Linked DNA regions of Homo sapiens: region 2 is linked to region 1. The links are contacts of gene promoters, found by promoter capture Hi-C in blood cells and fetal thymus (Javierre and others, 2016). All regions are on one chromosome and are shown on one strand. The core of a region is centred on a gene start or on the middle of the fragment in contact, and the rest is flanking DNA. Distances in the headings are between cores, read along the strand shown. Region 1 holds the start of MRPL39 (mitochondrial ribosomal protein L39). Region 2 holds the start of LOC124905002 (a long non-coding RNA gene).

What was found. The method cuts DNA at HindIII sites, captures the fragments that hold promoters and counts their contacts. A CHiCAGO score of 5 or more calls a contact.
Region 2: a contact is called between a fragment that was not itself captured here and the fragment with the promoter of MRPL39 in region 1, in 6 of 17 cell types (activated CD4 T cells, naive CD4 T cells, non-activated CD4 T cells and 3 more). The highest score is 7.3, in activated CD4 T cells.

The regions. Positions count from the first base shown.
Region 1 is chr21:25,603,999-25,611,844 of GRCh38, forward strand. It overlaps MRPL39 (mitochondrial ribosomal protein L39), which reads right to left and starts at 3,483. Exons shown (of 10, transcript NM_017446.4): 1 at 3,405-3,483; 2 at 2,451-2,657. The coding sequence starts at 3,477. RefSeq lists an enhancer at 3,428-3,547 and a silencer at 4,528-4,587. The HindIII fragment of the contact is 17,691 bases long and covers 925-7,846 here.
Region 2 is chr21:25,715,258-25,723,103 of GRCh38, forward strand. It overlaps JAM2 (junctional adhesion molecule 2), which reads left to right. Exons shown (of 10, transcript NM_021219.4): 10 at 1-2,305. It overlaps LOC124905002 (a long non-coding RNA gene), which reads right to left and starts at 5,244. Exons shown (of 2, transcript XR_007067827.1): 1 at 2,404-5,244. The HindIII fragment of the contact is 2,731 bases long and covers 2,135-4,865 here.

The DNA.
Region 1 (7,846 bases), core at 2,233-4,732:
GCTATATTTAGAAATATAACAATGGAAAGGCAAGATTCTGCAGACTGTCCTTTTTAGAGAAAAAAAGTATATTACGTCTATAATCAATTAAAAAAAAAAACCCTACAAAAATTAGCCAGGTGTGGGGGCACGTGCCTGTAATCCCAGTTATTTGGGAGGCTGAAACAGGAGAATCGCTTGAACCAAGATGGCAGAGGTTGCAGTGAGCCGAGATCACGCCACTGCATTCGAGCCTGGGTGACAGAGCGAGACTCTGTCTCAAAAATAAATAAATAAATAAAATAATACCCAATATACTCAAGGTCTTATTGGTTATTAACAAAATTACCCAAACCATTTACAAAATTTGTTCAGGCTACATCTAGTTTGAAATTAATTTGCTAATTATTAATGAAAAAAGTTACACTTGAATATTCAGAGAGCAGCATCATGGATACATTTGGATAGATACACACACAACTCAAAGTAAAAGGGAAATATATTAATACACACCTACAAAAATCAGTTCTAGATTGGTTTTGGGTCTTGCTCCCAAACCATCTCTTATTTCCATGACATAGATGCTTCAAGTTAAATACAGTAGTTACCATTTTTTAATAATTAATATTAACTCCCGGATAAGCCAATCAGCTCTGGTCTGTTTCATCATCCCAGAATGCAATGCCAACTGTTAATGCCAATTAGATGTTCTGCAATTACACAGCTACTCACAAAAGTAGTCAAACTACAAGGTCTAAATTATCAACCACTACATAAACCCCGTAAAGTCAGGGATCATGTCTACTTTTGCTCACTCATCAGTATATCCAGAGTCTAGCACCAGGCCTGGAATATAGCAGGTGTTCAATAACAGTTTACTGAATGACTGCAAGCATGAATGACAAGAACGTCTCATTGCAGGGGTCATGCTGAGGATGCTTCAGAAGCTTCATCACTACATGTGATGTGTATAAAGCTCCTTAAGGGCCTGAGTTTTGTCTTATCCTCCTCTGTAGTCCTAATGCCTATCATATCGCAGAGGTTCCAGAAATACTTGAAAACCAAATGAGTAAATATTTATAAGTACTAATTCAAATGCCAGAGTGAAGGAAGATTAAGAGTGAGTGTAGACTCTCTAGGCCAGTTTAAGCTGATAACTAAAGTTGTTAATTACTTAAATGGAATGGTTACTGAGTTTTCCAAAAGTTTAAGCAATGCAGCTAGTCATGCCTGTATCTGTTTTGGGGCTTCTTTAATTTAAATATTACCAGTTCTATCAAACGTACTATCAAAACATTTTGATCAAAAATAAAATATAGAAGTTCTTATTCCCTTCATTTCCACACAAAATCACACATGGGGCACAGTTGTCTCCTTTAAGATATACATAAATACTTTTACCCCAATCACATTCACCCCATGCACATTCCCACTCACACATTTACCACATGTACATCTAAATGTCAACAAAAATACAACACAGAGAGAGCCAAGTGGAAAGCAGATGATAGATTAAGTTAGGCTATACAATGAAGAGGGGAGAAAGAAAAAGGCGGCAAAAAAAAGCTGATCATCTGAGGCCATGGCAATCCCTTTACACCAAAATCCTTTCTTGAGACCTGCACGGTGACTCCTCCCACCACATCACAGCCCTAGCTAAAAGGAGCAAGCAAATTCCAGCTACTTGGGAGGCTGAAGCAGGAGGAGAGCTTGAGGTCAGAAGTTCAAGACCAGCCTGGGCACCACAGCCACCCTCTCTCTCAAAAATAAAAATAAATTAGCCAGGTGTGATGGTGGGCACCTGTAGTCCCAGCTACTTCGTAGGCTGAGGCTAGGAGTTTCAGTGAGCTATGATAGTACCACTACACTCCAGCCTGGGAGCAGGGCCAGACCCTCATCTCTAAAATTAAATTAAATTAAAGGAGAAAGCACACTAGTAACAATGCACTCAGGTCTGGTCACCTTCTGCCAGAAAATTATCTAGTACCATAAACAAAGCCAGATTCAAACAAGCGCCAGGCAGGACAATCTGTGCACTACAGTGCCAACCTTGCAATACTCAGAGTACCCTCCAGAACTACAGGGACAGTGAATAGACAATAAGGTGCCAGATAAAGAACCTCTGGGAAGTCCAGGGACTTCTGCGCCCACCACATCTGGCTAATTTATTTCTATTTTTATTTTTTGAGAGACAGGGTGGCTATGGTGCCCAGGCTGGTCTTGAACTTCTGGCCTCAAGCTATCCTCCTGCTTCAGCCTCCCAAGTAGCTGGGATTTGCTTGCTCTTTTTAGCTAGGTCTGTGATGTGGTGGGAGCAGTCACCATGCAGGTCTCAAGAAAGGATTTTGGTATAAAGGGATTGCCATGGCCACAGATGACCAGAAGTAATTACAGCATCCTGTCTCCTGCACCAGTGCTTCCACACAGCTTAAGTAAAAGGGTCAAAACTGTAACCTGATTCTGCTACTTACGCATGGCACAACTGTAGGGAGTTGAAATGTTTTTATTCATCACGAAGACAGTACCGGGGTCAGTTTTCCCAACATGCTTAACTTCTATCTTCTCAGTTCGGGGAGTTAATGATAACTGCCTGGCTTTCTCTTTATTAAAGAGATCATTCCGCATTTCTGTCAATTCTGTCGGTGACAGCTGAGAAGCTGACGATGTTGCTATAAATCCTGTGGAGAAGTTACAATAAATATGAAGACTGAAAAAATGATTAACGTACTGCCAAAAGTGCGCTCAGAGGTAAAATTAAACCAATTTGTAATATTAACAAACACCAGCGGAAGAAACAGAGCTGGCCCAGATACGTGCCTCTACTTTTAAATTTGGCTCTTTCACATCAGATCGCTATTTCCCACCAATTTCCTGTGTCGTGTTTCCAATCAGTGCTTTACAATAAGGGGCAAAAAGTAACCAGGAAACGGAGTCAAAACTGGACTAGAGTCATTGGGAAGGTGAACAAAGTGGTCGGTTTGACAGGGTCTGAAGAAAAACAAGAAAATTTCAGGAAACCAAAGGTCCCACACCGAAACTATCAATATCCAGAATGAGAAATGCTGAGTTTATATCCCAAAGGCCAAATCAGGGAACCTGCCAAGGCAAGTACGAGTATTCCTTGGGAAGACATGGACAGATGTGCACGGAACGTGCGCTGCTTCCCAGAGGCGGGCCCAAGCTCCTCCCGCGGCCTGGCTCCGACCCCTGGCCCCGACCCCTGCCCTTGCCCCTGCCCTCCGCCAGACCCTCGTTCCCATAAATTAGTCCTCCCAAGCTGTGCAAGAGCGACCGCCGCGGAGGGACTAAGAAACCCTCCTCCTTCCTCTGCCCCGCGGGACCTCCCCGGCCCCGCCTCAGACCCAATCTAGACAGACACCACTATCTAGGCCTCGCTCCCTGTCCCTACGGCCTCTGAAACTCACTCCATTTGATCCCGCCACCGGGTGCGACCAGCCAGAGCCGCAGCGCCCGGGAACCCATGGCCAGCGCCTCCATAGCAGCGGTGAGAACCGTCGCGCGCAAGTCCTTCTCCGCCCTCCTCCCCCGGAAACCGAACGCGCACTCGGAGTTCCGCAGGACAGGTCTGTTCCGGACCCAGCACTCAGACTGCTCGCCTCCACCGGGGGGCGTCAGGCCTCGCTGGGGATTCAGTGGCTGAGACCCCGAGACTCGGAGCCGGGGCGCGTTACCTGTGCTCGATACCTGGGCGCGGTCACCTACCCAGAGGTGCAGGGCCCCCAGGGCGGTCGGCCTGCCGCCCACCACGTAGGCTCTGCAGGGAAACAGAGTTCCACAGGCGTCGTTGCCCTCCGCCTTCAGCCCTCCGCGGGTTCGATCCCGGCCACCCAGGTGAAGCGCTTGCTTCCCTAAAAGAATATATGGTTTTCTTGGCGGGGGCGGGGGTGGGGGGGAATGGGGAAGGCGTCTTCTATTTTGTCAGCGATGACATCCTCTAGCGCGTGGCTTAACTTTCAATTGTGCCGGGTAGGTTCTTAGTTCGGCTGGAGTGGGTCTGCACCCCGGTTCTCCCCTTAGCTGTGGTAATAGAGGCCTCGGAACACGTCCCCTTGACTTTGGAGAGGACGTTGTAATTCCTAAGAGCTCTTTACAAATTTTCTAGTTTAGTTTATATAGTATAGGATGTATAGGAGAAGGCATCCCGGGGCAGAATTTTTGTCTCTAGTTCACTGATGTATCCCAAGCGCCCAGAACAGAGCACAGCGCAGTCAGCGCTCAACAGATGTTTCTTGAATGAATGAATGAATGAATGCCCTTGCAGGCAAACTTCAGCTCATTGTCTAATTTTTCTGTCCTACCAGGACGTGAGTGTTATTTGAAGTAAGCACTCTGTAGGTACAGGATGGAAATATTTTCATTTACAGTAGTTTAATTCTGTGGCTTTACTTAAGGGTGTCGAATTCAGCCTTTCCCCCACTCTGTCCTTTGCCTTGCAATTGGAATGCGCCGCCACCAGGTGGAAGTGCCGCCTAAGGTACAAATATGACCCTGCGCCACGATAGATCGACCGTCTCCTTGGCCCAAATGTTACACTCACAACCACTGCGCCAGGAAAGTGTAAGTATCTTCACTTTTTAAAATGGGAAATGTAAGTGACGGAGCTTGGATTTACATCCAGTCTACATTTTACCAGGCTACATTTCATTTAAGATCCTAATTCAAACCACGAAATGTACATATATACATATAGTGTTGGAGGGCGGGTGTATCTTTTGCTTCCTCAAATTTGCATACAGTTCCCATGAAAGCTGTCTGTTTCATCGGCCTTTTAGAGCCTGTACCCATTTAACCTTACCTAGAAACACTCTAGTGCCCTTAGAACATCTTAGAGCCACATTTAAGCAAAGCCTCTGAACATAAACTTAAGCAAGTTTGATCACAAACCCATTGGAGGCAGGTAATTGGAGTTCACCGGTATGAGAAATTAACCTAGTTGAAAGGTTGTCACTAGTGATAATGGCCAAAAAATACTATGTGCCAATCATAGGGCTTGGTTTATTAATTTTCACAACCTACCTGAGCAATTGGCATAATAATCTTCATATTCCAGGAAAAGAAATTCAGGTTTTAAGAGCTTGAGAGACATACCCGAGGTAAATCTTTGGCCAAGAATTCCCCCCAAATATTTTCTTACTCTGAATCTTCTTTATCTTGCCTTCTTTATCAACCAGCTCCCCAAATCTTAGTCTCACTCTGTCAATGTCTCTGCCAAATAAAAAGTATCAAGTCTGTAACAGTAAATATCTAAGATAAGCCTGGATCATTACTGTGCCAGAAAGCCTACAACTAACTATAAAATACAGACAAACAGAAACATGTTAAAAAGGACGGCGGACCAAGCTCGAAGGTCCTCCCGCTGTCCAAATTTGGGAGAGTTTGCATAACAAAAAGAATAATGCTGAAATATTATGACATGTATATTAAAAATTCATGAATCCGTAATGACACTCAAGAATAAATCAGTGTAGAAAGAGTGAAGAGAGTTTTCTGTACAAAAGAATGCCAGATAATAAAAGTCATAGGAATAATAGAATAGGGAAAATCACCATTCTGCATCTACCAATGTAACCATTGGTACAGGAAGGGATCGTCAATAGATGCTAAAATCAGTAGAGAAAGTTTGTTGAGGATCAGGGATATAGTCACATAGTCTCTAAGTATCACCTCACATATTACTGACAAAATACAAATGGATAAGTGAAACTTTTCAATGGAGAAATCTGGTGGATATCATCATCAAGTGGTCAAACTTATCATCACCCAAAATGAGACAATCTGACATTATTTGTGCTTCTTGGTTGTGATATAAACAATATTATCTATGGAGTATTCCTAACATAAATATTTAACCTGAATCTAAAGAATTATGAGGAAATCAGGTATATCCAAAAAGTGATATATTCTACAAAACAACTGACCTAAACTCTTCAAAAATGTAAGTTTTATGAAAGATGAACCCCCAAATAGTTAATAAACTGTCCTAAATTAAAGGAGACTAAAGAAATATACAGTTATTATCAATGCATGATCCTCGCTAGGTTTTGGATCAGGAAAAAAAATTTACAAAGAATGTTATTGTGACAGAGAAACTTGAACTGTATACTAAATAATATTATATCAATGTTATACTTCTTGGATACAATAATAGTGTCATGGTCATATAGGAAATAATCCTTATTCTTAAGATATATATATTAAAATATTTAGGAACCAAATATCACTATGCCTATAACAAACTCCCAAATGTTTCAGCAAAAACAGGGAGCTCTAATATTGAGGGAGGGAACAAGACAAATTTAGCAAATGTGGCAAAATGTTAACAATTAGAGAATCTAAGTGAGGATTTTAGTTGAACTACTCCTTCAACTTTATTCTGAAATGTTTCAACATCAAAACTTTGGAGAATAACTTCAGTGGTTTTCAACCATGAAAGTTTATTTTGCTTATGTTGGCTGTCAGTGATGGCAGCTACCAGCCAATTGCGGCTCTGCAACTTTATTCCAGAATCCAGGCCATAGAAGCAGCCCCTACTTGGTCTTGTGCTTCTTGTGGCAGAGGGAAAAGAATGCAGTTAACCACCTTGTGCACTGGCTCTTAAGAGCTTCTGTTCAGACTCACCTGTGTCTCAGCCACACAGTCCCCTGGCCCCAGCAAGTCCCCTGGTCAAGACCAATGTCAATCAAGTAGGATGCCTCCTGCAGGGAGCCAGTAAATGAGGTTATATACTTCACATTCAAGGAGGAATGCAAATCACTGGAATCAAGATTCAATAACAACGCCAGGTTTCATGGCTCACTCTTGTAATCCCAGCACTGTAGAGTGGCTGAAGTGAGCAGCTCCTTTGAGCTCAGGAGATGGAGACCAGTCTGGATAACATGGCAAAACCCTGTCTCTACAAAACAAATACAAAAAATCAGCTGGGTGTGGTGGTACTTGGGAGGCTGAGGTGGGAGAATCACCTGAGCCCAGGAAGTCGAGGCTGTAGTGAGCTGTGATTGCACCACTGCACTCTGGCCTAAATGACAGAGTGAGATCCTGTTCCAAAAGAAAAAAAAAAAAATCCAGTAACACAGTAATTTTCCCAAGATCGCAAAGATTATCTGGGGCTTAAACTCAGATCTGGCTGTCTCCAAACCCTATACTTTCTTTGTTCTCAAATTCATACGCTTTTTAAATCCAAATATTTGATTTTACATTTTCAAATCATTATACATTTACTTGTTGGGAAATTTTGTCTTTTAATGTAAAGGTGCCTAAGGAAAAGTTTCACTCTCAGTTCTTTTCTTGATTCACAAGTTCTTACCAAAACCCCACACAGGATACCACTGTTGAGAGTTCTTGATGCCTCTATCAGCTACCCCATTATTATGCCTCTATCAGTATCCCCATAAGATAGAGGAACATAACCTCTATCTTATGTTCCTCCTACTGACCCAACATGCAAGATACCAAACATATGGTTCTGTGCCTCACAAAGCTGTACTTTTAATCAGTTTGTGTTAGTCCAGATACTCTGAAGAACAGATACCAAGACAGAGGTAAGTATGCAAGGAAATCGTTAGGAGAAATGTTTGTAAGGGAAAAGGGGAAGGTGGCCAGGTAAGGCTGACTCCATGTGAAGAAGAGAAGGAAGGAAAATTGAATGAACGCATTCTTGACCACCAGTGCAGTCTAATAAAGTTTCAGCAAGATCATTAGGTAAATCCCCAAAGCCAAAGTGGGCATGCCTCAGTGTCCCCACTGTGCTCAGTCTTTGGCTGGGAGCAGCCCCTGGGAAGCAGGAAGCATGTTTGCCTCAAAGCAAACATGTTATTTCAGAGTTCAGCAGCTGGGGCCCTGGGTCAGT
Region 2 (7,846 bases), core at 2,250-4,749, 110 kb after region 1:
CAAAAGAAATGCCTAATGGCTGGAGCCCACAGGTGTGCACCACAGGATTTGCCTGGTGTGTGTCACTGATTTCTTCATTAAACGTAATTTAGATGGTCAAACACAAACCCAAGTGGCTTATTTCACCCCTACTGCTGCTTGCCACTGCTTCCTTCTTGTAAGATTTCTTTGAAGAGGATCAGTGACTTTGACATCAGAACTCACCACTGGAGCCTACACAAGTTTGCAGATACCTTTCCCTGCAGGAGTGGTGACTTCACATCTTTCTGTCTCTAAAAATTGTGCAGTGACATTCCGGGCCAAGTCCCTTAGTCAGGGGTTGACAATTCTGCTTTTGGACAAGGAGGGATGTGGAGGGAAGAAGTAATAGTCTACCAGGAAAATGAGACGAAAAAGCTCAGTATGACTCCCTGCATCTGGTACCCCTCTTGAAACACAGTGGGCACATGAGCAATGGCTCAAACGAAAAGTGGATCTAATGTGGGTTTCTCAACCGATGAACCACAAAAGCTTCCAGCTACTATTACAATGTGAAAATTCCAATGATCCGTTTACCAGAGCAATTAGACTATGTTAAAAATTCATATCATTTGTAACTTCTTTTAATTACTGAATTGATATTAAAAACAAAATATGGCTAGGGCATGTCCTATTCTTCTGGGCAAATGTGGATGAAAAGGTCACTTGCTACCTTTGACAACTATGAACATGATGGTTAATCTTCTTTCTTTTTTTTTTTTTTTTTTTGAGACGGAGTCTCACTCTGTCGCCCAGGCTGGAGTACAGTGGCACAATCTTGGCTCACTGCAACCTCCGCCTCCCCTCCGCCTCCCAGATTCAAGCACTTCTCCTGCCTCAGCCTCCCAAGTAGCTGAGATTATAGGCGTGTACCACCACACCTGGCTAATTTTTGTATTTTAGTAGAGAAGGGTTTCACCATGTTGGCCAGGCTGGTCTCAAACCTCTGACCTCAAATGATCCACCCCCATCAGCCTCCCAAAGTGCTGGGATTATAGGCATGAGCCACTGCACTGGGCAGGTTAATCTTCTTTCAAAAGAGTCTGCTCTTTCTACCCAATTGGCGAAGCAAATCCCCAGGATTCACCGAACAAATGGATTAAGCACCCACTGAGTGCCTAGCATGTGCCTGGACACCAGGCCACCGGGAAGATGCTCCCCCTTTGACTTGTCTATGACATGCTATGTCTCTCACCAGATCCCTTCCTGGAGGTCGGGCTTCTGTAACATGGCTCTGCCCCCAAAATAAAATTTTCACCACGAGTCAGGGATCGGCAAACATTTTCTGTAAAGAGCCAGAAAGTAGATATTTTAAGTCATAAGGTCCCTGTTAACAACTACTTGACTCTGCCATTGTAGCACAAAGGCAGCCACAGACAAAACAAGCAAGTAGTCATGTCTGTGTTCCAATAAGACTTTATTTACAAAAACAGCAGGCACAGACAAGATTTGGCCCACAGGCATAGATTCCCAACTCATGGTGGTGAAGTACAGAAAAAAACACCTGTCTACAAGCTTTTGTAAGAAATCAGGCTAAATGTTACCTATGTTTTGGTTGGAAGATTTCTTTGGTTTGAGGAATGCTTTCCTCTTGCATTGGCATGCCAAGAGGATAGATGACTCTGAAAGACGCCTCTTCAGACATACCTGTCATCACACAAGATCAACTTCTTCAGTTTAAATGACACAAATCCATATTGTGGAAGGAAAATATGTAGTGCCTTAGCTTCACTAATAGTTGTAAAACTTCTTTTTAAGACATCAAAGGCTAGAGGATTCATTTTATGCAGTGCGAACATCTAATAACACTCTCTGTGTCAAATATATATTGTACATTACCTTAAACTATTGTAATAGCTAGGTAAAAATCCTTGTATAAAAGAATGTTTTCCCCCACACAAAGGGCAGAGTATTGAGCACTAATTTCCTATTAAAAGTATATATATGTATCTGTGGGTCACTGGTGTCCAGACTTGTATTTGCATTTGTGTTTACTTGAGGAACTTGAACACTAACAACTGGTAAAATCCCATTGTAATTCTTACAGCATTTTGACTTTATTTTCCTGCAGTGAATTGTGTTGTGTAAAGATTAGGGCTTTAAAATCTTATTAGCAAGCTTTGTTTTGTTTTAATTATTGTTGCTGTTGTAACTAGATTTAATTTATTTTTAGTTGGAGGTTTGACCTAAGTCTGGACCAATTGATTGCTTTTCAATACAACTTTGCAAAGAACTTCCTTTTTCCACAGGTGGCTTTGTTCGATTAAAGTCTACACTAATAAAAATAGCTGAACTTGTTAAACTTTTTAGCCCCATATAACAGTGCAGGGAAAGAGTCATCCACCTATTGTTATTCATAAAACCCAGGAAACTACACCCTCTTACCTTCTGTAGCTACAAGGCTAGCTGCTGGTTAGCTGCTTAAGATTAGAATGTCATCATCTCTGGATGGCTGCCAACTTCTCAAATGCTGAGAAAAATGCTCTGAAAATAAAAAGCAACAACTATTTATTGAACACTTTATATATGTCAGAGGTGGGGATGGATGGGGGTGAGGATGTAGAAAATCTCATTCATCTCAGCGATACTATAAAGTGGGTAATGTCATCATTTTGCAGATGAGGAAACAAGAGTTACTGACTTGTCAAGTTCATGGAGCTGAGGAGTGAGGAATCAGGGTCTGTGGGGACCCAGATCAGTCTGATCCAGGATGTTTCACACACCATGTTTTTCTCTACCCCCAGGCTGACTTCCTTTTAAATTCTTTGCTGTTATTGTTGAGATGGGGTTTTGCTCTGTCACCCAGGCTGGAGTTCAGTGCCGCGATCACGGCTTACTGCAGCTTTGACTTTCCAGGCTCAAGTGATTCCCCCAGCTCAGCCTCCCAAATAGGTGACACCACAGGTGTGTGCCATGCCCAGTTAATTATTTATTATATTTTTGTAGAAGGGGGGTCTTGCCACGTCGCCAGGCTGGTCTCAAACTCCTTGACTCAAGCGCTCCTCCCTCTTCGGCCTCCGAAACTGCTGGCATTACTATAGGCCTAAGCCCGGTCCTTTTATTTATCTATTTATTTTTAAATTTTATGTATTTATTTATTTTTTGAGACGGAGTCTCGCTCTGTCGTCAGGCTGGAGTGCAGTGGCGCGATCTCAGCTCATTGCAACCTCAAGGGTTCAAGCAATTCTCCTGCCTCAGCCTCCCGAGTAGCTGGGACTATAGGCGCGCTCCACCATGCTTAGCTAATTTTTGTGGTTTTAGTAGAGATGGGGTTTCACCAAGTTGGCTAGGATGGTCTCGATCTCTTGACCTTGTGATCTGCCCACCTCGGCCTCCCAAAGTGCTGGGATTACAGGCGTGAGCCACTGTGCCCAGCCGAGCCCAGTCCTTTTAAATTCTTGTGCGCTTCTCTGTCACACTTTCCTTTCACCCCCAGTTATCTCTGGCCCCTCATCGCCTTCCTGGTCTCACTGCCAGACAAAATACCTTTTTGTCATGCCTTTCCCCTAACCCAGTCTAAATATCACAGTGGGCCATTTCATTCTCTTCCACTCTCCTCTCATTCTCCGAAGATGCCCAAATCTCTAATATTATTTTGAAAAATATTGAGGCTAACCAGGATGAATGCATTTAAATCCTATCACCACCACTGCCCCCTCCTATCTCTAAATCTCTCCATCTTTAGCCTCCCATTTATTCACTGACTACATCATTCATTGTCTTATTTGATTCTTCAGTCACTACTTTCATCCTTTTATCTCAGGCTTTCAATAGCATCTCAACGTTTATCTCCGGGAACTTCCACCCTCCAGTACCCTCTCAGTCACAACGTCAATCTCTCCAGTTCCAAAGGCTCCTTTTCCCTCTAATCTCTTCTTCCCCCCACCCCATCCATCAATTTGCCCCATTTCTCTCGAACCATGTCAACTCCCTTCTCCTTTCCCCTGGCTAAACCCTTTCACTCTTCCTTTACCTAGTCTATCACAAAATCTAAACTCCTCAGCCTGGAATTCAAGGTTTCCCACCCATCACAGACATATCCCATCATATTGCCACAGCCTACGTATTCAGCTATATGTTCTACTAACTTCTTCGGTTGCCTCATGTACCCATTAAACTGAGCTATGGTCATTTTATCTTAACCCATTTCCCCCTCCTCTATACACTTACCTATAACACCCTATCCACCTGGAATGTTAATTCTCCTAACCACAAGACTTGTATATTCTATCTACTTATTAAGAGACAGGTCAAATTCCACCCCCTCTAGGACAGCCTTCTCTCATTTCCCCTGCTGGAAACTCTTTCTTCTCTGAATTTCCGTAACCCTTGATTCACTTACTGGTTTCTACCCCATAATAGGAATGAACATGTTTGACACCCCTACCAATCTGGAAGCATTTTGAGAAAAGAACCATGTTTTACACAACTTTATAAGACCCAAAGAATTTAACAGCATCTAACGTGGTTGGTATTTAATGTGATAAATGAATTTTTAAAAATCAAAGGAACACTTGTCAAAGAGCAAATTTAGTATTTAACTATAAAATTTCCCCATAAATTTAGTTCAAATATTAATAAATGATTGTATTCTGAAATATGTAATTATAATAGTTATCTAATATGTGAAGTTACAAAGTTGTTCCATGAATGAAGGCTGGATGGAAACTATTTTTCTCATACCAGTCTTTTAGCAATTAGACATGAATTTCCACACAGTTCTTAAGAAGCTCTTCAAATATTTTTCCAACTTTCAAATTTTAAAATTTAATTTTTCATCTTTTGTTTTCTCTTTTTGGAACACTTTTAGTGTTAACAGTTGGTTAAGAAATTCAAGGTAAACTAAAAGCTTTCATTTGTGATACTTTCAATATTTGTTTACTTTTCAATATATGCTAAGTTTTTACTTGACCAGGTTTGAAAAAATGTACTAATTAAGACAAACTGGAGTGTAAAATGTCTTTTTACTTTCCACCAAGAAAATGCTCTCAAAACAAGTTAAGTGTGTGTCAACAAAGGACCTGTTTACCTTCTTTGAGATTGAAAGCAGGCTGTTTCAAAGCTCCATTTCATGATCCTTTATTTTCAACTTCAAGTGTGCTATTTATAAAGTTTCTTAAAGATGGTATAAAAATAGAGATTTACCAAGAGCTATAGTTGGAGTCCTAAAGTTGCTTATGGTTTTTTTTTTTTTTTTTGAAATGCAGTCTCGCTCTGTCACCCAGGCTGGAGTGCCGTGGCGCAAACTTGGTTCACTGCAGCCTCCTGGGTTCACGTAAGTCTCGTGCCTCAGCCTCCTGAGTAGCTAGGATTACCGGCACCGGCCAACATGCCTGGCTAATTTTTGTATTTTTAGTAGAGACAGGGTTTCACCATGTTGGCCAGGCTGATCTTGAACTCCTGACCTCAGTGATCTGCCTACCTCGGCCTCCCAAAGTGCTGGGATTACAGGTGTGAGCCACTGCGCCCAGCCAACTTCTTAATTTCTCATTCTCAAACTTTCTTTCCAAATATTTACTATGGAATTTAACTACTGCTGAATTGAAGTTACTGTAGGTTAAGAAACATTTTCTTTCTAAATTTTAGGATAATATATACCAAAGAGAATGAATAAAAGTTTTACAAAGACGCTATGTTCATATAACAGGATGTTAATTGGGACTTTCTCTGTTGCCTAAAGACTAGAAACAAGTATCTCACTTTCTAGGGAAAATGAAGGCTGGACGCAGTGGCTCACACCTGTAATCCCAGCACTTTGGGAGGCTGAGGTGGGAGGATCATTGGAATCTAGAAGTTCGAGAACAGCATGGGTGACGTAGTGAGACTGTCTCAAAAAACTGAAAAACTAGCTGGGTGTGGTGACATGCACCTGTAGTCCCAGCTACTCGGGAGGCTGAGACAGGAGGATCACTTGAGCCCAGAAGGTTGAGGCTGCAGTGAGCTGTGATCACACCACTGCAACTCTAGCCTGGGCAAAAGAGTGACACCTTGTTTCAAGAAAAGAAAAGAAAAAAAAAAAGAAAAGAAAAAATACATTGGGTATAAATACCCCTTCACTGTTGATGAAGAGACAGCCACCCTGAAATAATTACTCCAGTCCACCACTACTCTTTACCCTTCACCTCATCACACAGTCCATATAAGCTGAAGTGTGTATGGATGGATTTGGGATGGGAAGGAACGAGGGGATGGAAAGAGACAGAGAATGAGTTTGCCAAAGTCATAAGGAGTACTATTCCCCCAGGTCACCCCCAAAGGAAGTAAAGAGAATATTTAAGACATCACTTGCAAAAACTGAAGGCACCTGCCAAGGAAATAGGAGCTATTTGAGCCAGTGGAAAGGGAGCTGGAAAAAAATATCAAGAAGAGGGGGAGGGCCAGGCGTGGTAGTGCATGCCTGTAGCCTGTAGCCACTCTGGAGGCTGAACTGGGGGGATTGCTTAAGCCCAGGAGTTCAAGGCTGCAGTGAGCTATGATCAAGCCACTGCCTGGGCAACAGAACAAAAGCCCATCTCTTAAAAAAAAGGAGAGCGAAAAAAATTTGCCAGGCATGGTGGCGGGTGCCTGTAGTCCCAGCTACTCGGGAGGCTGAGGCAGGAGAATGGCGTGAACCCGGGTGGTGGAGCTTGCAGTGAGCCGAGATCGCGCCACTGCACTCCAGCCTGGGCAACAGAGCAAGACTCCATCTCAAAAAAAAAAAAAAAGAGCAAAGTAGGGGAGGATGGTGAAATATACCTGTTTTCCCAAGATTTCTTAGGTCAAGGACATGAGTGTCCCGTGGATCCAGTAGGCACCATTGGAAGTAGTTGGCGTTCAGCCTTCTTGCCAGTGTCTCACCAGACCAAACATTGGAAACAGTGTGTACTTACCATTCCAGTGGGAGCTAAGGGGTGTTTGGAAGGGAGTTGGCATGAACCTGCCATTTAAGGGAATGGAATCTGTACAACTGGGAAGACCTCAGCCACAGGGCCCCGCAAGAACTCATACATGCACCTTACTAGAGAGCTAGCATTTGGAAGGCTGCTACACCAGGAGCAGCAACAATCAGAGAAATAGTAAAAAACAAACAAAAAAGCCTACACTAAATGTTAAATAAGTAAAAATTGCCTAGCCTTCCTGGGTTACTATTAAAGGTAGTGCTATGTAAGTAACAGACACATGTCCCTTTCTAGTTCCCCTTACCTCTCCTCAACTCAAATTTCCTCTTCGTATAAGGACACCAGTCAGATAGGATTAAGACCTACCCTAAAGGTCTCATTTTAACTTAAAGTCCCTGTCTCCAAAGTCACATTATGAGGTATTGGAGGTTGGGCTTCAATTCAATCAAAGTATGAATTTTGGGGAAACACAATTCTTCATAACACCAGGCAAGGGGTAAAATAGCCATTTTAAATAACCACAAGGCTGAGATCATTTGTCATAATCACATAAGGTGGTTCTGAATGGTTAAGTGCAGGACAAGGAGTGACCTGGCAGGCTGAAGTGCTGCACAAAGGCCAGCATTTGCAGGGTTGGAGCAGCCTAGCCAAAAAGAGGAAGGGGCTCTGAGGAAGACGAAGCCTTGGTTAAGATCTGTGACTCACAGCACCACGAGAGGTTCAGTTGGAAAACAGGGAGTGCTTGCCTGACCAAAATTTAAATGTAAATGCACAGCCCTGTAATATAGGGCACGAGAATAGGATGCTTCTTACAGTCAAACAGAACCCTGTTTCAATAATGAACAAAGAGACTGGGACATGCAAGCAATTCCACAGTTGTGAGACAAGTAAAAAATGTGTTATGAGATAACTGTGTTAGCTGATAAAAGGTAAAATTCAACTAAACTTTG